Linked DNA regions of Homo sapiens: region 1 is linked to region 2. The links are contacts of gene promoters, found by promoter capture Hi-C in human tissues and cell types (Jung and others, 2019). All regions are on one chromosome and are shown on one strand. The core of a region is centred on a gene start or on the middle of the fragment in contact, and the rest is flanking DNA. Distances in the headings are between cores, read along the strand shown.

Region 1 (5,191 bases), core at 260-2,759, 52 kb before region 2:
ACCAAACCCAAAGAAAATAATAAATATCAGAGCAGAATAAATGAAAATGAATCAAAGACAACAATACAAAAGATCAACAAAACAAAAAGTTGGTTTTGTGAAAAGATAAAATTGACAAACCGTTAGCCAGACTAACTACAAAGAAAGAGAGAAGACCAAAATAAGTAAAATCAGAGATAAAAAAGGGACATTACAACTGATACCATAGAAATGTGAAGGATCGGCTGGATGCGGTGGCTCACACCTGTAATCCCAGCACTTTGGGAGGCCTAGGCAGGCAGATCTTCTGAGGTCAGCAGTTCAAGACCAGCCGAACCAACATGGTAAAACCTCATCTCTACTAAAAATACATCATTAGCCGGGCGTGGTGGCACATGCCTGTAATCCCAGCTACTTGGGAGGCTGAGGCAGGAGAATCACTTGAACCCAGGAAGCAGAGGTTGCAGTGAGCTGAGATTGCACCATTTCACTCCAGCCTGGGCAACCAGAGCGAGACTCTGTCTCAAACAACAACAACTACAACAAAACCAGAAATTTGAAGGATCATTAGAAGCTACTATGAGCACCTATATACCAATAAATTGAAAACCTAGAAGAAAGAGATAAATTCCTAGACATATACAACCTACCAAGATTGAACCATGAAGAAATCCAAAACCTGAACAGACCAATAAGAAGTAACAAGACTGAAAAAAAAAAAAAAAAAAAAAAAGTAACAAGACTGGGCCAGGCTCAATGACTCACGCCTGTAATCCCAGCACTTTGGGAGGCCGAGGCGGGCTGATCATGAGGTCAGGAGATCGAGACCATCCTGGCTAACACGGTGAAACTCTGTCTCTACTAAAAAAAATACAAAAAATTAGCCAGGCGTGGTGGCAGGCACCTGTGGTCCCAGCTACTCGGGAGGCTGAGGCAAGAGGATGGCGTGAACCTGGGAGGCAGAGCTTGCAGTGAGCTGAGATTGCACCACTGCACTCCAGCCTGGGCTACAGAGTGAGACTCCATCTGAAAAAAAAAAAAAAAAAAAAAAAAAAAAGAAGTAACAAGACTGAAGCCACAATAAAAAGTCTCCCAGCAAAGAAAAGCTCGGCACCTGATGGCTTCACTGCTGAATTTTACCAGACATTTAAAGAAGAACTAATATAAATCCTACTCAAATTACTCCAAAAAACAGAGAAAGAGGAAATACTTCCAAACTCATTCTATAAGGCCAGTATTACCGATACCAAAACCTGACAAAGATGCATCAAAGAAAGAAAATTATAGACCAACATCCCTGATGAACATTGATGCAAAAATCCTCAATAAAACACTAGCAAACCAAATCCAACAATACATTAGAAAGATCATTCATCATCACCAAGTGGGATTTAGCCCAGGGATGCAAGGATGGTTCAACTTATGCAAATCAATCAATGTAATACATCATATCGACAGAATAAAGAACAAAAACCACATGATCATTTCAACTGATGCTGAAAAAGCATTAGGTAAAATTCAACATCCCTTCATAAAAACCCTAAAAAAAAACTGTGTATAGAAGAAACATACCTCAACGTGAAAAAAGTCATGTAACAGACTCACAACTAATATACTGAATGAAAAAAAACTGAAAGCCTTTCCTTTAAGATCTGGAACATGCCAAGGATGACCACTGTCACCACTGTTATTCAACATAGTACTGGAAATCCTAGCTAGTGCAATCAGGCAAGAGAAAGAAATAAAGGGCATCCAAACCAGAAAGGAAAAAGTCAAATTACCCTAGTTTATAGATGATATGATCTTATATTTGGAAAAACATAAAGACTCCACCAAAAAACTATTAGAACTGATAAATTCAGTAAGGTTGCAGGATACAAAATCAACCTACAAAAATCAGTAGCATTTCTATATGTCAAAAGTGAACAATCTGGAAAATAAATCACGAAAGTAATCCCATTTAGAATATCTACGAATAAAATTAAATATCTAGAAATTAACTTAACCAAAGAAGTGAAAATATCTACAATGAAACCTATAAAACATTGGTGCAAGAAACTGAAGAGGACATAAGAAAATGGAAAGATGTTTCATGTTCATAGATTGGAAAAACCAATATTGTTAAAATGTCCATACTACCCAAAGTAATCTACAGATTCGGTGCAACACCTATCAAAATACCAATGTCATTATTCACAGAAACAGAAGAAAACATCCTAAAGTCTATATAGAACTACAAAAGACCCAGAATAGCCAAAGCTGTCCTGAGCAAAAAGAACAAAACTGAAGAATTACATTACCTGACTTCAAATTACACTATAGAGCTATAGTAACCAAAACAGCATGATACTGGCATAAAAACAGACAGACTAATGGAACAGAATAGAGAACCCAGAAACAAATCTAGACATCTACAGTGAACTCATTTTTGACAAAGGTGCCAGAAACATACATTAGGGAAAAGACATTCTCTTCAATAAATGGTGCTGAGAAAATTGAATATCCACATGCAGAAGAATGAAACTAGACCCTTATCTCTCACCATATGCAAAAATCAAATAAAAATGGATGAAGGACTTAGAAATCTAAGACCTCAAACTATGAAACTACTAAAAGAAAACACTAGGGAAACTCTCCAGGACACTGGACTGGGCAAAGATTTATTGAGTAATACCCCACAAGCACAGGCAATCAAAGCAAAAATGGACAAATGAGATCACATCAAGTTAAAAAGCTTCTGCACGACAAAGGAAACAATGAAGTGAAGAGACAACCCACAGAATGGGAGAAAATATTTATAAACTATCCCTCTGACAAGGGATTAATAACCAGAATATGTAAGGAACTCAAACAACTCTGTAGGAAAAAATCTAATAATCTGATTTAAAAATGGGCAAAAGATCTGAATAGATATTTCTAAAAAGAAGACATACAAATGGCAAGCATGTATATGAAAAAGTGCTCAACATTATTGACCATCAGAGAAATGGAAATCAAAACTACAACGAGATGTCATCTCATTCCAGTTAAAATGGCTTTTATCCAAAAGACAGGTAATAACAAATGGTGGTGAGAATGTGGAGAAAAGGGAACCCTCATATACTGTTAGTGAGAATGTAAATTAGTACAACTACTATGGAGAACAGTTTAGAGGTTCCTCAAAAAACTAAAAATAGATCTATCATATGATCCAACAATCCCACTGCTAGGAATATACTCAAACGAAAAGAAATCAGTATGTACCAGGCCGTTCTTGCATTGCTATTAGGTTGGCGCCAAAGTAATTGCAGTTTTGCAATTAAAATGGCAAAAACTGCAGTTACTTTTGCACCAGAGAATGCTTGAGATTGGGTAATTTATAAAGAAAAGAGGTTTGATTGGCTCATCGTTCTGCAGGCTGTACAAGCATGATATCAGTATCTGCTCAGTTTCTGGGGAGGCCTCAGGGAGCTTTCACTCATGACAGAAGGCAAAATGGGAGCAGTCACATCACATGGGGTGAGGATGGCACCAAGAAGATCATGCTAAACCATTCATGAGAAATCCACTCTCATGATCCTATCGCCTCCCACCAGGTCTCACCTCCAATGCTGGGTATTACAATTCAACATGAGATGTGCGTGGGGATAAATATACAAACTCTATCACAGTATATCAAAAAGATATCTGCACTCCCATGTTTGCTGCAGCAGTATTCACAATAGCCAAGATTTGGAAGCAACCTAAGTGTCTGTCAACAGACAAATGGATAAAGAAAATGTACATATATACAATGGAAAACTAGCCATAAAAAAGAATGAGATCCTGTCATTTGCAATAATGTGGATGGAACTGGAGGCCATTCTATTAAGTGAAATAAGCCAGGCACAGAAAGACAAACATCGCATGTTTTCACTTATTTCTGGGATCTAAAAATTAAAACAACTGAACTCAAGGAGATAAAGAATAGAAGGATGATTACCAGAGGCTGGGAAGGGTAGTGGCAGGGGAGGGGGTGAGAATGGTTAATAGGTACAAAAAAAAAAACAAAAAGAAAGCGTAAGATCTAGTATTTGATAGCAAAATGGGGTGACTATAGTCAATAATTTAATTGTACATTTAAAAATAACTAAAAGAATATAATCGGATTGTTTGGAACACAAAGGATAAATGCTTGATGTAACAGAAACCCTATTTACCCTTATGTGATTATTACACATTGTATGCCTGTATCAAAATATCCCATATTCCCCATAAATATATGCACCTACTATGTACTCACAAAAATTAAAACCAAAAAACAAGACATTTCAACTTTAAAATTTTTCTTAAAACCCTAATTTTAAATACTTTCAGGTGATCTAAGTCTTTTACACATTTGGATAGCTAGTGCTGAAGAATACAAGTATATATAATTCACCTTAATTCATTTTTGTAACCTGTCTCATGATCTTTCCTTCTGCTGCAATTATTATTTTTGGTGGAAGTCAGTAGAGTCTTCTGTAATAGCACTTTTCTAGGTTTTTGAATCAGCTTATTTAATCTAAAGCATAATAAAGTAGAACTCTCAAATCCACAGTCTTCATAAACCAGCTGGTTAACCAAGACCAATGTAAAAAACAACTAGCTTTTGTTACCTCGATATCATAGATTGGATTGTAGTCATTATAGCCGGAATAAAGATCATCTTCATCTGTCTCTGGAGCCAGGTGCACATTTTGCATCATTTGTACCTAGGAAAAACTGGCAGTGTAAATATGTTCTTGGTATAAGAAATATATATATATATTTTTTGAGATATGTCTTGCTCTGTTGCCCAGGCTGGAATGCAGTAGCACAATCACGGCTCACTATAGCCTTGATCTCTCTGGCACAAGTGATCCTCCCACCTCAGCCTCCCTGGTACTATAGGCTTGTGCCACCACACCCAACTAAGTTTGAAATTTTTTGTAAAGATGGGATCTCCCTATGTTGCCCAGGCTGGACTCAATTTCTTGAGCTCAAGTGATCCTCTCACTTTGGCCTCCCAAAATGCTGGGATTACCAGCATGAGCCACCACGCCAGGCCAGAAATAATTCTTAATTCCAATAAAGTATAACTATTTAATGACATTTGTGGTCAAATTTATCTATATATATTTTCATGGCTTCAATTTTTTTCACATCAAATTCCCAAAACTAGATGTCAAAACATTAAGTTATTGTCCTCATTTCACATTTATTTCACAACTAC
Region 2 (5,091 bases), core at 691-3,190:
TGCCTCCTGGGTTCACACCATTCTCCTGCCTCAGCCTCCCGAGTAGCTGGGACTACAGGCGCCTGCCACCACGCCTGGCTAATTTTTAGTAGAGACGGAGTTTCACCGTGTTAGCCAGGATGGTCTCGATCTCCTGACCTTGTGATCCGTCCGCCTCGGCCTTCCAAAGTGCTGGGATTACAGGCGTGAGCCACCGCGTCCAGCCACTTTTGCTTTCTTTTGAGACAAAGTCTTGTTCTGTTAGCCAGGCTGGAGTAGAGTGGCAAAATCATAGCTCACTGCAGCCTTGAACTCCAGGGCTCAAGAGATCCTCCTGAGTAGCTGGGACTACAGGAATGCACCACCACACCTGGCTAATTTAAATAAATCTGTATTTTTTTTGTTTGGTACCAGAAGGATTAAAGTTATAAATATATGTACACATAAATAAATAAATATATAAACACACACACACACACACACACACACACATATATATACACACACACTAGAGATGCGGGGGGGGGGGTTCTCACTATCTCGCACAGGCTGGTCTCAAACTCCTGGCTTCAAGCAATCCTCCTGCCTCAGCCTACTGAGTAGCTGAGACTACAGGCGGCACCAGCCTGGATAAGTTTTTTAATTTTTTGGTAGAGACAGGGGTCTCGCTTTGTTGCCCAGGCTGGTCTTGAACTCCTGGCCTCAAGCTATTATTTACTACTCAGCTTCCCAAAGCGCTGGGATTTCAGGCATGACTTTGCAGGGAGCAGCAAACAAGCCAGTCTGCTGCCCCCATAGCCTCCGGTAGTGAGCAGTCACAGGATGCTCACTCCCTGGGTGCCTTGATTATTATATTGGCTGCCTGTGTAACTGACTACAGAAACTGCTCCATCAGAAGATGGAAGCTTTGGAGCCTTGTATTCTCAGCCAGAGCAGGCGCGGTTGCTCAGGCTAGCGGCTGTCTCAACAATGTACTGTAACATTCCCTCCAAAAAGTCCTCAACATTTAAGCTTGCCTTCTACTGTGTGTAAGTTGCATGTCCGAAACACTCCATTACGGATATGGGAATATAATCAATCCATGTGACTTAGCCAATCTGATGAGTGAGAGATGACTTATCTTCCTTGTGTTACTTTTCATTTCTCTTGAGGTTGAATACTTTACAAATATTTATCGATAATTTGTGAAACTGTTCTTTAAAAAACAAAACAAAACAAAAAAACCTAACCCCTCCCCTGAGATTTCTCTTTCCACGTTCCTGACTCAGGGGAAACAAAGGAAGACTTCCTTTTATCATCTCAGTGTTGGCTGCGGTTCCAGCTTGAGTACTGTCTCCTCTGTCTAATGACTGTGTCATTTCCCGTTCAGCTTGTGCTGTGTGGACGCACACCACTGTCAGGCAATGTGTGATGCCCCTTCCTCTTGGTCTGTTCCGGGCTCCAAGAAGGCCAGGAGTCAGGGCACGAGGGCATTTCCTTTTTCTGATACATAAACCGAGTGCAGAGTGTGCTCCGTGGAGGAATTCAGACGTGTCCTTCCGTAGCGCAGATGAACGCATCAGGTGTTCTCTTTCACTGCTGTCGCAGTCCCTGCGCCCAGTTCGCAGTTGGCGGCAGCGGCAGGCGTCTTTCAGAGACGAATTAGCAAAGGGGACATTCTCTGACAGTTTCTCTAGGGTGCTTTAGCGCTAGAGCCCGTGCCAGCCTGCCCGTGTCCCCTCCTATAGACACGGACTTCACGGTGAATGCTGACAGTCACAAGCGCGTGGTCTTCCCGCTTTCCACCCCCCGACGTGCCCCCGCGCTGGTCCTGCCCCTGCCCACGAGGGTCGGCGCGCCGTGTGTCTCCCGGTGTCTCGGGCCCGCGGCGCGCACCCCACTCAGGGACCAAGCGGCCCTCCCCGCCCTCCCGGTCCGCGCGCGCAGCCAATGGGCGCGGGACCCGCCCTCCCCGGAGCCCAGAGCTCGCAGCTCCGCCGGCGCCTGGTCCCAGCGCCCGCGGCGCCGCGTCCCCGGCCCAACCATGGCGTCCTCCGCGGCCGGCTGCGTGGTGATCGTTGGCAGGTAAAGGGCTCCGAGCCGCGCTGCTGCCCCTGGAGCCCGGGGAGACGCCGGGGACGTGGTGCCCTCGCGTGGGGCCCTCGGGGTGGGCGCCGGGTCGCTGTCCCCGCCCCGGCCTCCGGTCCTCCGAAGCCCTGCGCCCTGCGGCCCCTACGGCGCTGGCGGGCTCGGGGAGAGGCGCGGCTGGAGGGGCTTGGCAGGTGGAGGCGCCCCGCGGAGTTGGGTCTGCTTCCCGGGAGCCAGCGTTGCAGGAGGTTCCGAGGTTGACCGCCCAGGCCGCGGGGCCTGCGGTTCCTGGACTCTGTTGAATGTCGCCGCGTCTGCCCGCAGGTCCACATAGAAGTGCCAGGCACCGTGTTGAATGAAACGAATTCTGGCTGCGATCCTGCGACGACTGTGTTCTCATCCCCATTTTACGAATGAGAATACTGAGACTAAGCAGTTTACCTAAGGTCACAGGCGTTTAGTGACGGAGACAGGACTAGCCCAGCAGGGAGGGTGCCAGCGCAGTCCTGTCGGCGACGATGTCGCTGGAGGCCGCAGCAGGTGTTAGGCGAACATACACGCAGTCCTAATTCCTGGGCGAGGCGATGTTTCCAGAGGGGAGGTGGGGGCCGATGGAGCCCAGAGAGTTTGCTAAGTGTGTCCATTTAACAGCTTAAATTCTGCCCAAACTGATTTTTAGTGTGTGCTTCCCCCACCCCGCCCCCCACCCCTACGGTTACAATCCTTGCTATTTTTGTTTTTTAAAAAGGGGCATTTGTATGTACCTTTCTTTGGCCAGCTGTTAGCAGCAATCTATAAACATGTTAATACTTGCTATTGATAGTTAAAAGCACCTTTTTGGTGACTGCTGTTGAGGTGTTGGCCTGCCCCCGACTCCGCCCCCCATCAGTGTACAACCCGGTGTGGAGACCACTTCCAATGTCAGGGTGTTTCCTTCCCACTGAAGGAAGGCATCAGATTCCTTGTTGTCAGCTTTCTTTTCTCCAGAGCAGTGGAGTTAACTGTGCCTTTGTTCTTTCTGGCCCATGAGTGCCCGTGGTTGAATAGTGAAGGCATATTAAAAAGTGCACTTTGGGCCGCGCGCGGTGGCTCACCCCTGTAATCCCAGCACGTTGGGAGGCCGAGGCAGGCGGATCATCTGAGGTCGGGAGTTCGAGACCAGCCTGACCAATATGGAGAAACTCCGTCTCTACTAAAAATACAAAATTAGCCGGGCGTAGTGGCACATGCCTGTAGTCCCAGCTACTCGGGAGGCTGAGGCAGGAGAATCCTTTGAACCCGGGAGGCGGAGGTTGCGGTGAGCCGAGATGGTGCCATTGCACTCCAGTCTGGGCAATAAGAGCGAAACTCCGTCTGAAAAAAAAAAAGTGCACTTTGTACCAGTGGTGGTAGTTACCTCTGTCTTGCATTTTATTAATAGTTACCAGAGTTTATGTGTGTGTGTATATATATACACTCACACATATATATACACACACAGTTTTTACACGCATGCGTGCGCGCACGCGCACACACACACAATTTTAATAGGATAGGGTCTCGCTCTGTCGCCCAGGCTGGAGTGCAGTGGCACTATCATGGTGGATCTCCACCTTCCGGGCTCAAGCCATCCTCCCACAGCAGGCATGTGTCACCATACCCGGCTGATTTTTAAAATTTTTAGGTAGAGATGGGGTCTCACCATCTTGCCCTGGTTGGTCTTGAACTCCTGGGTGCAAGCGCTTTGGCCTCCCAAAGTGTTGGGGTTACAGTTGTGAGCCACCTTGCTTGGCCTTGTATAGGTCCATCATGCCTTGGAGTAGTGTTATGCATGCACCTAATACATGTGAAGTAAAGTTTTAGTTGATTGTGCAGTTATCTGGCTGTGGGTGGCTCAGTCTACTGAGGAGGAGCTTCAGTTAACAGTTTACTTCTGATTCCTTGAGGGATGTTGATAAGGAATTAGAGAAAGGCTTCCAAACTTTAAGGACCACATAATTCTCTGGGGCCTCTGCTTGTTTCTTTGTTTTCTGGTGTGAAAATCTTGTCTTTCCCCCACCCTCAGCACTTCAGCACACACCCAGCTCTGCCTCTGGGACAGTGCTGGTTTCTTCCCTTCCTCTTTACCACCCTTCTTTCTCGTCCCTCTATTTCTTTCCTGGCCCCACAGGTGATTCCAAGGAACACCCACTTAACAAATAGGGCTTGGGGAATGTCAATTAATTTGCCAAAACCTGGTTCAGTTTCATTCTTAGGTTTCAACAGACCAAAATATACATATTTCAATTTCAGGAGCATATTGTGTTTTCAGCTTTCCTTATCAGTTTATAGATTTCATCTTGAAAGTACCTGCTAGGAATACAGTCCCACTTAATTCTTTTCCGCTGATCTTTTTCCAAAGTTCACTCTTCCTTAGGGCCACTTAGCTGTCCTATAAACATCCAGGGCAAGTCCCTTCAGAATGGGGAGGGCTTGAAAGAGGATGAGAGAAACTCTTTTGGGCCTAGGGCTGCAGGAAAATCTGGTAGTGATAACTTTTAAAAATGGGAGTAGAAGTCCAGGCATGGTGGCTCATGCCTGTAATCTCAGCACTTTGGGAGGCCTAGGAGGGCAGATCACCTGAGGTCAGGGGTTCGAGACCAGTCTGGCCAACATGGCGAGATCCCGTCTCTACTAAAAATACAAAAATTAGCCGGGCGTGGTGGTGCATGCCTGTAATCCCAGCTACTCAGGAGGCTGAGTCAGGAGAATCGCTTGAACTCAGGAGGCGGAGGTTTCAGTGAGCCAAGATCACACCACTGCACTCCAGCTGGGGGATAGAGTGAGACTCCATCTCAAAAAAAAAAAAAAAAAAAAAAAAGTAGAAATGGGTATCATGAAGATAAATTTGCATTGGAGTAGTGTTCTAAGGCTTTCATTTTGTTAGCCTTACCTTTATAAAACACTGTGTTTCTAAATCGCTAAAATATGAGTTCTGTATTTGTATACACACTGCAAGATTCAGCTTGTAGCCCTTGAGCTTGTTTAGAATAGGAACACAAAATGTTCCTGGTGCAGGGCATGCCC

Evidence for each region. Contacts are between HindIII fragments. The study calls those that stand out against the background at their distance.
Region 1: a fragment that was not itself captured here is called in contact with the fragment with the promoter of CRYL1 in region 2 in 1 of the 25 tissues and cell types used here (H1 embryonic stem cells).

Annotation. Positions count from the first base shown.
Region 1 is chr13:20,573,880-20,579,070 of GRCh38, reverse strand. IFT88 (intraflagellar transport 88) reads right to left here. Exons shown (of 26, transcript NM_006531.5): 2 at 4,596-4,691. The coding sequence starts at 4,685. Among named protein-coding and RNA genes, the nearest start is that of IFT88, 9.3 kb to the right of the region's middle. The HindIII fragment of the contact is 4,952 bases long and covers 1-3,985 here.
Region 2 is chr13:20,522,706-20,527,796 of GRCh38, reverse strand. CRYL1 (crystallin lambda 1) reads left to right here and starts at 1,940. Exons shown (of 8, transcript NM_015974.3): 1 at 1,940-2,043. The coding sequence starts at 2,003. RefSeq lists an enhancer at 1,425-1,534 and a silencer at 1,715-2,264. The HindIII fragment of the contact is 16,444 bases long and covers 1-5,091 here.